2 separate regions of the Homo sapiens genome follow, and region 1 is linked to region 2. The links are contacts of gene promoters, found by promoter capture Hi-C in human tissues and cell types (Jung and others, 2019). All regions are on one chromosome and are shown on one strand. Each heading gives the region's core, a stretch centred on a gene start or on the middle of the fragment in contact. The rest is flanking DNA. Distances are from core to core; before and after follow the strand shown.

What was found. The method cuts DNA at HindIII sites, captures the fragments that hold promoters and counts their contacts. A contact is called where the count stands out against the background at its distance.
Region 1: a fragment that was not itself captured here is called in contact with the fragment with the promoter of SLC9A3 in region 2 in 7 of the 25 tissues and cell types used here (H1 embryonic stem cells, IMR-90 fibroblasts, bladder and 4 more).

What each region holds. Positions count from the first base shown.
Region 1 is chr5:655,589-662,693 of GRCh38, reverse strand. TPPP (tubulin polymerization promoting protein) reads left to right here. Exons shown (of 4, transcript NM_007030.3): 4 at 1-2,832. It also overlaps a transcript of CEP72 not described here. Among named protein-coding and RNA genes, the nearest start is that of TPPP, 34 kb to the left of the region's middle. RefSeq lists an enhancer at 112-281. The HindIII fragment of the contact is 7,661 bases long and covers 1,086-7,105 here.
Region 2 is chr5:520,477-527,468 of GRCh38, reverse strand. SLC9A3 (solute carrier family 9 member A3) reads left to right here and starts at 3,020. Exons shown (of 17, transcript NM_004174.4): 1 at 3,020-3,357. The coding sequence starts at 3,147. LOC107986395 (a long non-coding RNA gene) reads right to left here and starts at 2,811. Exons shown (of 2, transcript XR_001742543.1): 1 at 2,506-2,811; 2 at 14-1,057. RefSeq lists an enhancer at 821-1,453. The HindIII fragment of the contact is 12,710 bases long and covers 1-6,992 here.

The DNA of each region.
Region 1 (7,105 bases), core at 3,667-6,166, 130 kb before region 2:
CCTGGCCCCAGCGCGGCTCCACCCTGGGCTGCGTCTCCTGGTCACAGGCTGCGTTTCTCCTTTCTGTCCGTGGGCAGCCCAGTCCCCACAGTCACGGCCAAGCCACGCAGAACGAACATGACTCCAGAGGACCTCGCCCTGGAGCTGAGCCTGGCGCCGGGTCAGGACGGAGGGAAGGGCGGGTTGGGGTCCGCGGGTCCTCACACCGCACGGCAGGCACAGAGGCTCGCCAGGCCCTGATCCGGTCTGTGGGGACGAGGGACACTGAGGAGAGGTGCTGGGCACCAGGACGCTGCCTCCTGGTCCCTGGTTGGCCTCAGACAAGCACGGCCTCGAGAAAAGAGCCAAGCGCATCGGGAGCACACCAGAAACCGGCCCTGAGCACGAGAAGAGCCTCCGCCCGGCCCGGGCACCACCCGACCTCGCAGGGAGCAGGCCCTGTCACCGACGGGTCACCTCGCCCACACGGCCAGCACCGACTCACCACAGCCCTTCCCAGACCTGGCTGGAGTGGCCGGAGCGGCGGGGCTCATGGCTCCCATCTTGGCCCCTGGAGGTGAGCTCATTCACAGAAGTGGTCCCTTCACTCTGAGAGAGAAAATCGTGGCGTGCATCCCAAACCCTAGGCCACGCCTGTGGGTTTCGTGAATGAGATCGAGGCTGCTGTGGCACCCTGCCCGTCCTGGCCTGGAGCACCCTGGGATCCTGGAGGGAGAGGCCCCACGCCCCCACTCTCCCTCCACACTTCCAGGGTTGGTGCCCACGAGTTAGAGGCACGCCCTCCCCCAGCGGCCCTCAGGCTTTTCTCAGACATGCGGGAGCCAGGAGAGCACCCTTCTCCACTCAGCTCCAAAGCGAATCTTTGAAAACACCCACTCGGCTCCCATCTCTGTCACCTAGCCAGGAGGGGTAGCAAAAATAAAGTCACGAGGACATAGTGGTCACCACTGTCAGTTACAACTTGTCTGTGGAATCCGTAATTGCATCTGTGTGCCGCCTCCGAACACAGAACATTGTTTGGACGGCAGCCCCACTGCACATAACAGACCCGTGCATCTTCCTCAGTCAGTTTCTGAATATTGTGAATTCAGGCAGGTGTGTGTTCTCTTCTGCATGTTTTTATGCACTGCCAATTAGCTTCTACTAACCACGGTTCAACAGAAAATAAATGTGTATTTGTGAATAACAAACTGCACAACCTGCAAACCAGGAGAGAGGGACAGGTTCTGTCAGGGGTGACACCAGGACACAGGGACAGGTTCTGTCGGGGGTGACACCAGGACACAGGGACAGGTTCTGTCATGGGTGACACGAGGACACAGGGACAGGTTCTATCATGGGTGACACCAGGAGAGAGGGACAGGTTCTGTTGGGGGTGACAAGAGGAGACAGGGACAGGTTCTGTCGGGGGTGACACCAGGAGAGAGGGACAGGTTCTGTCAGGGGTGACACCAGGAGAGAGGGACAGGTTCTGTTGGGGGTGACACCAGGACACAGGAATAGGTTCTGTCGGGAGGACAGTGCTGATCGTGTCTCAGCATCAGGAAAGGAGAAAGGCAGAGGGAGAGCGCTGAGAAGACTGTTCACGCCAGAGTGCTTATTTATTTTTAATTTACTGCTATAGGATAAGCAACCAGGTAGTGTTCCTAACAATTAGCGTTACCAAAATTAAAGTTCAAATTATATGTTTAAAATATTGTAGAAGATATATATTTATACTGGACTACTTTTACACCTTCTAATATCCTGTCCAAGTTTGGGCGCAGATGGTGGAGTTGGGCTGGCATCATGTCCTGTGGCCGCCCCACTTGCCTGTTGGTGCCACTCCATCCCGGGCCCCAGGGATGCCAGCTCAGGGCTGACCACAGCAGCCCTGCGTGGGCATCACCTCCTACCCCAGCCCCCATCCTGGGCTGCTGCGGCCGCCTGCTTTTGTGAATGGTGTTTTGTTGGCACAGGGCCTGTCCTGTGTTTTCACACAGGCCTGTGGCTCCTGCTGTACAAGTGGAGTGGGGAGGAGTTGAGATGGAGATGCCTTGGCCCTGGACACTTACCTGTCCCTCTACTGGCCCAGCTCATCTCCTCCTGTGGGCAATCACGCGTGCACTGGCCACCCTCCCACCCCACAGCACACACCACGAGGGGATGGCACAGGGGGAAGATGAGGCTGGACCGTGATGTTATCAATAGGCTAGAACGTCCTTCAAACACTGAACCTGCATCTTTCCTCCTCTTACTACTGAACACTTTGTGAGCTCTGGTGGTCCAGGGTGCAGCGTTTGTCCCTGGGCATGTGATGGGGAGTCCTGGGCACATCGAGATGCTTTACTTCTTTCTTTCGACCTCTTAAAAAACTAAACCAAGCCAAACCACAAAGGAAATCTGCACAACTTAAGAGAAACTTGAAAGGGATCGTGTAACTACTAGTTTGTACTAAGTTTTTTTCAAGAAAGGGAAACAAATTTATATATATATATATATATATATATGTGCAATATATTTTTACACTGTGTGATTAACATTAGGGAGTACTGAGTGCATCACTTTATCAGTGTGACGGGTGATGTCCACGTCATGGCTGTTCTGACTCTGAAAGCCACTTCTGCTGATGTCTAAACCGCACTCACCGCGGACGTCCGCGGGGTGGGGTGGCCCTGCTGTTCCTCCTGCAGGTGAGAGGTGTGGTGTTGCCTGTTGGACTTGCTGTTGAGCCTGGCTTGCAAACCTGTAGTGAAACAGCTCGTGTCTGTGTGCACACTGCTCCTGTGTCTGCTGTCGTTAACATTGTGTGTCAAGTTGGTAAAGTGACAAATAAAGGTGTTAAAACATGGATTTCTCTGTTCCTCAGAGCACACGTGTCTGTAACAGGTGATAACAGGGGATAGGTACTGGAGGGGCCCCAGGTGGGGAGTGTGCTGAGTGCCTCCACTGGGCTGAAGCTCACAGGGCCAAGGCCCTTGTGTCGCCTTTTCCCGAGGGAGTCTCTCGCTTCCTCATCTAGACAGGAGGACCGTGAAGGAGGAGCAGGCGGACCAGCCATCTGTCAGGTGTGAGTCCTGCTCTAGCACTGGTGTAGCCCTGGGTGGGGTCTAGATTCAAGGGGAATGGACATGAACACTGTGAACACCACCAGAGCCCCCAAAACAGGACAATGTCATCACAGGCTGCTATAAAAAAAATGCCAACCTGAGATACTAGCCCAGCGAAACAGTTTTCCAAAATGAGGATACAATAAAGGCATTTTTGGACAATGAAAAGAGAATTTGCCACCAGCAGACATTTAAAGAAATTCTAAATGCAGAAAGCAAAGGTGATCTCAAATGGCATGTCTGGTTTGTGAAGAAAGTGGAGCAAAGAGAATAAATAGGTCAATAACTCCAAATTAACAGTGGCTATATCAATACTTTGTGAGATTAAAATGTTTCATAAAAATACTTGGGAACCCCCACAGGTGAGCAGAACAGGAGCATGGAGAGGGACGCGCGCCTCGCGCTCCAGGAACCAACCCCAGAGGTGGGTGAGAGCATGGACTAAACGCACACATGCCATAAGCATGGGACAGAAGCAGAGTACAGTCTCCAAACGAGCAGAGGGACATGCGGGATGACAGGAGATCATCCAAAAGTGGCAAAAGTGAAGAGGGAAAAAACCATGAATAGAACAAACAGCACAAAATGAGATGGCAGATTTAAACTAATGAGATGGTGGATCAATCAGCTTCGCTGAGGCCGGGCGCGGTGGCTCACACCTGTAGTCCCAGCACTTTGGGAGGCCGAGGCGGGCAGATCACAAGGTCAGGAGATTGAGACCATCCTGGCTAACACAGTGAAACCCTGTCTCTGCTAAAAATACAAAAAATTAGCCAGGCGTGGTGGCGGGCGCCTGTAGTCCCAGCTACTCGGGAGGCTGAGGCAGGAGAATGGCGTGAACCCGGGAGGCGGAGCTTGCAGTGAGCCGAGATCACGCCACTGCACTCCAGCCTGGGCAATAGAGCGAGACTCCATCTCAAAAAAAAAAAAAAAAAAAAAAAAAAAAAAAAAAAAAAAAATCAGCTTTGCTGATAAAACAAGAGAAAGAAACACAGAACAGGGAAATTGATAAAATAATATTTTAACCCATATTTATTTGTAATTTCAGCATGGCTAATGATAGATCAGATCAGAAATTGAAAAGAAAATGGAGGCAAAGGGTGTTTCTTTGAAAGGACTGAAGAGAAAGTTCAAATAACGAATATGAAGAATGGCCAAGAATGGGCTGAGTCCCCGGGAGGCAGATGCTGAGGTGGCCTTTGTATCACAAGAGGCTCACTGGTGAGGAATGCCCCTGAACAGCAGCAAGGGGAGGAGGCCGGGAGGCCTCAGGGAGGCTCTGGAGATGACCTGCTAGGGAGCTCCCTGTGGTTCGCATTAGGCCCAGGCCCTGCCTGCTTGGACACTGGCTGCAGCTGCCTGGATGAGTGTGTCCTCAGCTCCAGAGCCCAGGCACAGCCTGACAGCATGGTGGCTGGAGATGGTCTCTACCCCTGTACTCCCTGCCCCTGGATGGCAAGGTCTCGCTTGAAGGGACACAACTGTCCCTACATCTCTGCCACAGGGACACACACAACTTCAAATGTTGAAGCCATTCAAATTATGTGTGTTATACCCCCCAAAATGGAAAATTAAGACAATATGGACCAATTCTTAGAGACACATAACTTACAAAAACTAACTCGAAAAGAAATGGAAAGCCTGCTCAGCCCTGTGACTTAGGGGAAGTCACTGCCAGCTACAAAAGAAAACCCCTAACACTTCAGTGGCTGGACACACAAAATGTATTACTCACACAACGTCCAACTTCAGGAATAACAAGAGATCTCTTCTAACAGAAGACAAACAGACTTCCTAATCCTGTGATGCAGCTGCCCAGGTCACTGGCAGGGAAGCTATCACAGTGACGCACCAGCTCCCGCTGCTCTGGCCCTGAAATGACTCACCTCAGTCCCACACACAGGCTGTTGCTCAGTAGTCACACGGCCCCAGCCCAACTCAGGGATATGCAGCGTAAAGGCAGGGGGGACATAAGGATGGTCTGTGTGAACGGTTCTGCCACATCCTGGAACACTGAGTTATACTGGATCAGTAGTCAAACCTCCTGACAAAGAAAGTTCCAGGCACAAGTGACTTCACCAGCAAGTTCCATCAAACATCCATGGAAGAAATAATTATAATCTTAAGTAAATTCTCCTAGAGAATGGAGAAAGAATACACAACCTAGCTCATTTTACGGTGGTGTAAAGATGCGAATCCTTTCAAGAACAGCATTACAAAGGAAAATCGTAAGTGGCTGTCACCCGTGAAGAGAGATACTAACCACTGTACTAGAGCACGCAGCTACCCAGTGCTCAGGACGCACCAGATGCTGCCCGAGAGTCTTATTCATACTAACTCATTTCACCTTCACAACAATCCTGTGAGGAAGCCACTATTTCCCCATTGTACAGACGAGGAAATCAGGGCCCAAACACAGGTGCTAGGTAGTATAGCTGGGCCACAAAATGCTAAACAAAATATTAACAAACCAAATATAACAATATGTATGTAAAAGAAAATCCATAATTATTAAGTTGGACTTATCTCAGAAATTCAAGGTTTATTTTTAACAAAAGCAAATTATGGTCGTTAAACACATCAATATATTAAATGATAAAAATCATGGTCATCTCCATCACTGCAGAAAAAGTGATAAAAGTCATCCATTCTTGAGGCGAATTATTGATAGAAGAAGCTTTAAAACAAGCAAAAAAAATCCATTACAAGTGAGTGGATAAATGGTGAGAATTTATCACCCCTTTGAATATCAGGAAGAAGACAACGATGCCCACTCTGTTACCACCTCTAATCAGCACTGCACTAGGGGTTCCGACCAGTGTAGAAAAGCAAAAAACAAAACAAAAATAAAAACATAAAGTAAAAATCCAGAACAACAGGAATGGGAAAGAAAACCCATTACTCATAGAAAACATGACTGTGTGCCTAAAAATGAGGAAACAGCTACAGGCAAATGATTAAAATTACTAGACTGCCGGATACAAATTAATACACAAAAATGAATTTCCATGAAATGGCAACACATAATTAGGAAAATGAAATCCAAGCACATTTTTAAAAACAGCATCGCAAAATAACAAGGACCTAGGATTAAATGTAACAAAAGACATACAAGACCACTGTGAAAAGTATCAGGCTGTATGAACACCCGCTGAAGGAGCCCTAACATTTGGAGAGACAGATACCATGTTCAGAGCTTGTAAAACCCAGTACTGCAAGTACGTCAATGATTCCCAAGTTGATCTACAGGTTCAACACAATCCCAAACAAAATCCCAACTCGACCGGCTAGTTCTAAAATGTATGAAACACAAAGGGTCAAAAACAGCCAAGACATCCTAACATAAGATGGAGGTACGCGCCCCAGAGTGTGTGGTATTGGCAGAGACAGACAAGGAGATGCAGAAACGGACACAGAGATCATCCTGACAAAGGAATCTTCAGCAGCCGGGACTGGGAAAACTGGGCTTATGTCTGCAACACAATGAAACTGGATCCTTAAGCTTCACAACAGGCGCAAAAATCAATTCTGGGTAGAATCTATATCTAAAATCCAAAATATACAAAACTATAAAATCCTTTGGAAGGTAACAGAGTATCTTTATGATCAAGGCAAAGTAAAGATTATTAAAAATTAGGATCCAAAATGCTTTAATCATAAAAGAAAATATTGATACATTGGGCCATATTAAAGTTTAAAATTTCTCTTAAAAGACACCATTGAAGTAAAAAGACAAGAAAAGCTATTTGCAAATGTAATTCACAAAGCACTACTACCCAGAATCATAAATAACACCTGCAAATAAATGAGACAGACCATCCAATAGAAAAGTAGGGAAAATACTTGAATAGGTACTTTACAAACAGGAAATCCCAATGAGCCGCAGACACATGAGAAGGTGCTGAACAAGGAGAAGCCAATGAAACCAGAAAGAGGTCTACCCCACACGTTCCACCACCCCGCGCCCTCCGCCACCCCGCGCCCTCCACCACCCCACTCCCTCCACTACCCCACAC
Region 2 (6,992 bases), core at 1,771-4,270:
TAATGTGACAGACTAGGTGTTTTCAGTTTTATTTTCTTAATCCTGAAGTTCAGATGCTGTGGCAGCTGGGTATAAGATTACAGTTGTTTTCCGACTGGCTTTTGCATTATTTCCACATTTTTGAATGTTTTACAGCCACGCCCCTTCCCCATACGTGCAGGGGGTCCCTGGACCACAAGGGGTCCAGGCCACGGTGGAAGGATCCAGAATGCTATGCGTGCCTGCCTGAGGCAGGAAGTGGTCGGGCAGTTATCAGATCGTCACCACCCACAGGACAGGAATGTTCTCAGGATACTTCCCAAGACCCCCTCACACACACACACAAGTCTCTGGGTCTTTTTGGCCATGAGGATGTGCAGGTTGTGCACTGTACAATTCCAAGGGGCACGGTTCATACAGTCTGCCTGATATGGATGGTGGCCCCTGCAGTGGTGGGGTGCCACGGCCCTGCCTAAAACCACGACCCAGTTAGAGGGAGGGTTTTGTGGCTCCAGTCCGAGGGTAGGGGAGTGGGTGTGCACACCCTGTATAATCCCCTAGACTGGCTTCTGCATGAGGCTGGCATCCTCAAGGCCATGCCCATCACAGGCTGGGGCAGCGCCCGTCTGCCCCGAGCCCTCCAGCAACCTTGGAGTGCAGACGCATTTCATCCTCCAAATGCTCACAGATTGAGATGCTGCCAAACAGCCACACTTCTCACCTGTGCAGGGACTCGTGGGCAGTGGGGTGTGCCCTGGCAGGACTCGTGGGCAGTGGGGTGTGCCTTGTTCTGGCCACGCCACTTCAGGGGCTCATTGCCTTTCTATTCTCCATGAGGCAGCCCTTCCTGCTGTGGGGGGCAGTGGAGGTGTGGGCAGCACACTACCTGATGGCCAGCGCCTGGCACTGGTGTCTGTTCTGGATTTGTCCTTCCAGGCAGTGACACTGCTCTTCTGCCCTTTGAACAGCTTTGTGGAGAAAGGTTGTCGGCTCTTAGGACAGGCTGGTTGGGGGGTGGGGTGGCCGGAGGTCCAGTGGGCATCATGGAACACACTGGTCTGGTGGAAATTTGGCCTTCCTGTGGAATGCAAGGGCAACATCTTCAGAGAGGACGTCGTTCCTAACGGCTCCACCCAGGAACCATAAGGAAAGAGCAGGGAAGCTCCGGACTGGAGGGAATCCTGTTCTTGTCCTGCTGGCTTTTTCTCTGGGACAAGAGGCTGGGAGTGGAGTGGGGGACAGAGACAGGTGGGGCAGGGACACAGGCCAAGAGCGACTCCGATGCTCCCACCTCGCAAGACCATACTAGTGGCCAGTCACACACTTCCACTCCCCCGGTGCCCTGTCCAGACCCTGCAGTGGCCCAGGCCAGGGCTGCCCTCCCTCCACGCCACTCAGCAGCCGAGTCACCAGGCGAGCACCATCTGAATGCACCTTCCCTGTGCTACACGGGCCACTTCCATTAGCATGAAACTGGGGCCCTTGCAGGGTGAAGTCATTGAACTCAGCACTGTCCTCCTCAGGCCTCCGCAGCCCCCACTCAGATGTCAGAAGACACATCCATCCTCCATCTGCACCCACCCCACCGCCCACCTGCCCTTTGTCCACCTATCTGTCCTTCCATCCATCTATCATCCATCCGCTCAGCCACTATCTTGCGAGTGCTATTGTGTGCCCAGCTATCTTCCAAGCTCCTGGGATGTATGCATGAGCCCCTTGCTCGTGGAGCAGACATTCCCAGGGTGAGGGCAGACAGCTCAAGGTCAAAGCCAGCAGCCCCCAGGGCTGGGAGGTGAGCTGATTCCCGGAGCCAACCGAGTAAGCAGGGGAGGCGGGAGCTTAGCTGCCACAGTTGTGAGCTGAGTGGGTATCGGGTGGGACCAGAAGGTGGCATTGGAGCCAAGCCCCTGGGGAGCTGAGGAAGGGAGCACACAAGAGCCGTCCAAACAGAGGGAGCAGGGCGTGCAAAGGCCCCGAGAGGCGCCGATTGCTGGTGTGGGCCGTGGAGTGCATGGGGGTGGGGGTCAGGCAGTGGCTGGGGTCTGAGCTCCCGGGAGACGTTGAGCCTTTCCTCTGAGAGGGAGGGTCCCAATAGGAGGGACTGAAGGGGCAGGTAGAGGGCCGAGCAGGAGCCTTTGCAGGTGGCTGCAGGCTCCCAGAAGCCGCTGGTTTTGTGCACATTTTGAAAGTAGAGCAGATATGCTAAGAGCTTGGAAACCTTGTGAGCGAAAGAAGTCCACCTGCGTCCCAGGTCTGGGGCTGGAAGGCTGCAGGGTGGGCTTGGAGGAAAACAGGGGTGTGGTTTGCACAGTGGAGCCTGAGATGCTTAAGAGAGCCAGTGCTGCCGGAGCGGGCTGTGGGCAGAGGCCCCGCATCCGTGTGAAGCCCTGGGGGTATCGAATTGTTTTGGGCGGAGGTCTAAAGGCAGGGGATGGGGCAGGGGAGACCACGGGGGCCCCTGGGCTCCCATCTCAGAGCCTGGGGTGGGGGATGCTGGCTGGCGATGGGAGGGGCAGAGAGACTTACCAGCGCACCACGCAAGGCCTGGGCGCCCCCGAGTTCTGGTAAGTGGCCGGTCCGGCTGTGGAATGCAGGTTCCTGCTGAAGACAATAGCGAGGGGCTGTGTGAAGACACACCTGGGGCCCCTGTGCACCCTTGGGCCGCCCTGTGGGGTCTGCGCAGCCCCAGGCCCTGCGTTTATGAAGGAGGGTTGGGGCGAGCGCACCCACAGCTGCCCGGGCATCCCAGGAGCTGCGCGGAACCGCCTGTCCCGCTGCCCCGCGCTGTGCTCCCCACGCCCCAGGAAGGCGGCCGCGCAGTCCCGGGCTCGCTCTTGCCGCGACCTCCCGGACCTCCAGGCCGCGGGCTCCGGGGGAGGGTGGGCACCAGGGAGCGCGGGGTGGGCGTGCGCGGGCGGGGCGGGCGTGCCGGGAGCTGCGGCGGTGTCTGCGCTCGCGAGTGCGCGGCGGGGGCGGGCAGGCTCCGCCCCGGGGCGGGAGGGGGCCGCGGGATTAAAGGCCACCCCGGCGGGCGGGGATCGGACTGTAGCCGGTACCGGCACCGGAGCGCGCCGGGTCCTCGCCGGGTCCCAGCCCCGCGCGTCGGCCCAGCCCAGCCGGGACCCCCCGCGACATGCGCGTCCCAGCCCTGCGCTGAGCAGGCGGCAATGTGGGGACTCGGGGCCCGGGGCCCCGACCGGGGGCTGCTGCTGGCGCTGGCGCTGGGCGGGCTGGCGCGGGCCGGGGGCGTCGAGGTGGAGCCCGGCGGCGCGCACGGCGAGAGCGGGGGCTTCCAGGTGGTCACCTTCGAGTGGGCCCACGTGCAGGATCCCTACGTCATCGCGCTCTGGATCCTCGTGGCCAGCTTGGCCAAGATCGGTAAGTGGCCCCGGGGTCTCCGGATCTGCCCGCGGGGTGTGCGGCCGCCTCTGCTGGGCCTGGGGGCTTCGTTGTGGCCGCGCGCATCAGGTCGGAGCCGCGCGGCGGCCGCCCGGGAGAGTCCGGCTCTCGGGTCCAGCAGAGCGAGACTCGGGAGCGACTCTGGCCGCGCTAAGCCGCCCCTGCGGGTCCCGAGGTCTCCCCTCCCCGGCGGGGGCACAGCCTCGGAGCCCCGGACTCCCGGCTCCCGGGTCCCTGTGGGGTCTCCGCCCCGCCTCCGCTCCGAGCCCCGCAGACTGCAGGCTGCTCGCGCCCAGGGAGTCCCCGGGGCCGGGTTTCCTTCGGGGTTCTCAGGCTTTTTAGAGAAACGTCCTTGGAGTGATGGCGTTTTTTCGTGAGTTACAAGGGCAGAAAAGAAAAGCGGTGCTACCCGCATGAAACCCAGCAGAATCCTCCCTACAGGCGCAGCGTTCCCATTGGCGGGCCTCCTTTTTTTTTTTTTTTTTTAGAAAATCCCGGTCGGTCAGATTTCTCTTCTTCTTAACCGGCGCCAATGAACCAGTAATGTGGGCACGGCAGGTAGCTCCTGGCAAGGTGACAGGAAGGTCAGCTTCCTGAGGAGCTCGTGGGGATCAAAGTTTCATGTGTTGGTCCACAGGGTAGGGTCTCTCCAGGGGTGGCAGGGAGGTGGTCACTCGTGTGGAGGGGGGATTAGGGGGCCCGAGTGGGGCCAGGAGAAGCAAGATCAGAGCAGCAGGCGCCGCGGCAGGTTTCCAGAGCAGCTTTGGACTGGGGCGAGAGGAGGTTTCGATGCTGGGGCCGAGGAGGGGCGCCCACGCAGGACAGGGGAGGGACAGGCTCCGGGGAGAACAGCTGAGAGGACCTTGGCCTTGGTGGAACCTGGTACGCCCAGCAGGCTTGATTGGAGAAGGCGCCTTTTCCTTCAGTGACGCCTGCCGCCTGCCCTATTTATGCCAGGGTCTCCCCTCCCCTTCAGGCCCCTTGTGTGTTTGCTTTCTGTCTCATAAGGGCTCTTCTGAGCCCTCCCGCCTCCTCCCTTCTCCGCAGCCTCCTCCTCGCCCTGGTGTCTTTCAGCTCCCCGCCGGGCTGCCTGCTCTCCAGGCTCAGGCTGTCCTCCCTGGGCTTTCCACTGGGGGCTTGGGATGCTGGCCGGGGGGGAGTCTCTGAGGCTGGCTGCCTCCTACAGTTGATTTCCTTGAGAAGGGCCCCTGGGGCATCAGGGAGGTCCAGACTCAACCTGGGCTCTGCGGCCGCCCAGTCCTAAAGCTCACCCTGCTTTCCTCTGACGGGAGTGCCCCCCTGGTGTAAACTGAAAAGGTAATTTCTTTTTTTTTCTTTTTTTTTTTTTTTTGAGATAGAATTTTGCTCTTGTTGCCCAGGCTGGAGTGCAATGACGCGATCTCGGCTCACTGCAACCTCCACATCCTGCCTCAGCCTCCCGAGTAGCTGGGATTACAGGCATGAGCCACCACGCCCAGCTAATTTGTATTTTTAGTACAGACAGGGTTTCTCCATGTTGGTCAGGCTGGTCTTGAACTCCAGACCTCAGGTGATCCACCCGCCTCGGCCTCCCAAAGTGCTGGGATGACAGGCGTGAGCCACCGCGCCCGGCCGTGAATATCTAATTTCTGTACAAGCTGGGGCCTCTCCCAGTTTAGCCCAGTGTACAGAGTCAGAATCTGGCATCTGAAGGTCCAATGACAGCCGCCAGGCACCAGCCAGCCCCGCCTGGGAGCCGGCAGATAAGGCACACTGACCAGGGCTTTGCCTGGCCTCAGAGTTTGTTATTCACAGGGAAAAGCCTTCAGGTCTCCCAAACACTTGGACTGGTTCTGGGAAGACGTCCTTGAGGGCGGGGAGGCTGCCGGCTCCAGCAGCAACTCCCCGGGGCAGGGCGGTCCTTTACAAAGGCCCACCCTGATAGCACTCAGCGGCTGTCTTTGTCTCGGATTGTTGGCTCCACCTGGGAAGGCGAGCCTTACCCTGTGCAGCTGTGGGAGCTCATCGCGGTATCCCACAGGCGCAGACCCTCTCCAGACCTGCCCTTTACGCTCCCTGTCGTCCCCTCAACCCACTGTGCACTCTGCAGCCCCGGCAGTGACAGCTGAGGTCTGCTCTGGGTCTGCCCGGATTGGCCCCCAGGGTGTCCCACCCTCCATCCCCTCTCTGCCAGCCACACCTCTTGAACACAGCCCCCAGCCCTCCCTGTGTGCTTCCTCCCCCAACCCCTTCCCTGTGAACTCTGGACTTCTCAGATTCCACTGGCCCAGACCGTCCTCCTTGTGCAGCCAGCCTCAGGTGCACGACCTGTGTTCCCAGAGGACCCTCAGGTCCAGGCCTTCACAGACACCGGGGCCCAAGCCTGCACCACAGCGGGAACTTCTCCAGTTTCACCCAGCCTCCTCCACATGCCCACAGCCCCCGGACTGGGGTCTGAACCTACTAAGCTGCTTGGCACATTTTGTTGTTTAAAATGGTCAGGGGTTGGCCACACTCTTTCAGTCTCAAGTTACACGAACAGAAATGTCTCTTCCAGCAGAAAAGAGCTGCCATTCCTGTTGCTTTTCCAAACATTTGTTGAATTTCTCACACATCCTGAGAGTTTCTAACTCACAGCCCCAGCCTTCTTCAAGCCATTTGTAACCTGGTTGGGGAAATAAGAGTCCGGGTACCCTGAAACCCACAGCAATGTTGATCCCAGGAGATTTCTACTCCAGGCAGCTTGGGACAGAGGATGGCCAGAGGGCCAGAGCTGCCTCAAGCAAACACTGGGGCTGGGGCCTCAGCAGGTGGCCCAGGAGCCTGGGCAAGGAACAGGTGCTGCTGTTGGCCCACCAGCCTCAGGCCGCGTGTCTGGCTCCGGCAAGGGCTCCCCACAAGCCCCCTATTTGTGTGCACTGGGGTTCCCCTGCCTTTTACAGCATCTTTTTAAAATGCAGAAGGGGAGGCAAGGGCCGAGGCCACGGAGCCACTCCACAGCGCAGACCTCCCAGACTGAGAGGACGAGGAAGTCTTTAGCAGTGGAGGCGGCAGGGCCTAGTGTCTGCCTCAGGCAGGGTGAGGGGGCTTCCTCCTGTGCCCCTTGGGGGCCCCCAGCCTGCAGCCACCCGCACCAGGGCCACTCTAGGCCTTAGGTGCCCACCAGAATCCCCGCCTCACCCTGCACCGTCCGTGTTGGGAACCCTGGGCCAGGCTTTCCTTCCTTCCTGGGCTTCCTCTGGGGGCTGAGGCTGTGCCTTGCAGAGACTGCCAGGCCTGGCAGCACTGGGTGGGGGCCCTGGGGTGGGATCCAGGCAGTGGCAGGTGTCAGGACTGCAAGCAATGGGCCCCTGGAAGGAGAGGGAGGCGGGGGTGTCAGAAGCCAGAGGAGGAGGCCTAGGGTGGGTCCCTGGGGAGGCAGAGGGAGGCCCGAGCAACTCAGCTACAGGCCTTGGAGGACTTTGGTCCCCACCTAGCGTCGTGGTGAGGAGTGGATGTGGTCAGATCTGAGTTCTCAGACGACTGCCTGGCCATGGGGCAGAGAATGGCACCGGGGAGATTCCGGGAGGATGGTGGGGAGCTTCCCTTGGGCATCAGGGCGGTGGACAGCAGGGCCTCCTTGAAGCAGGAGTGGG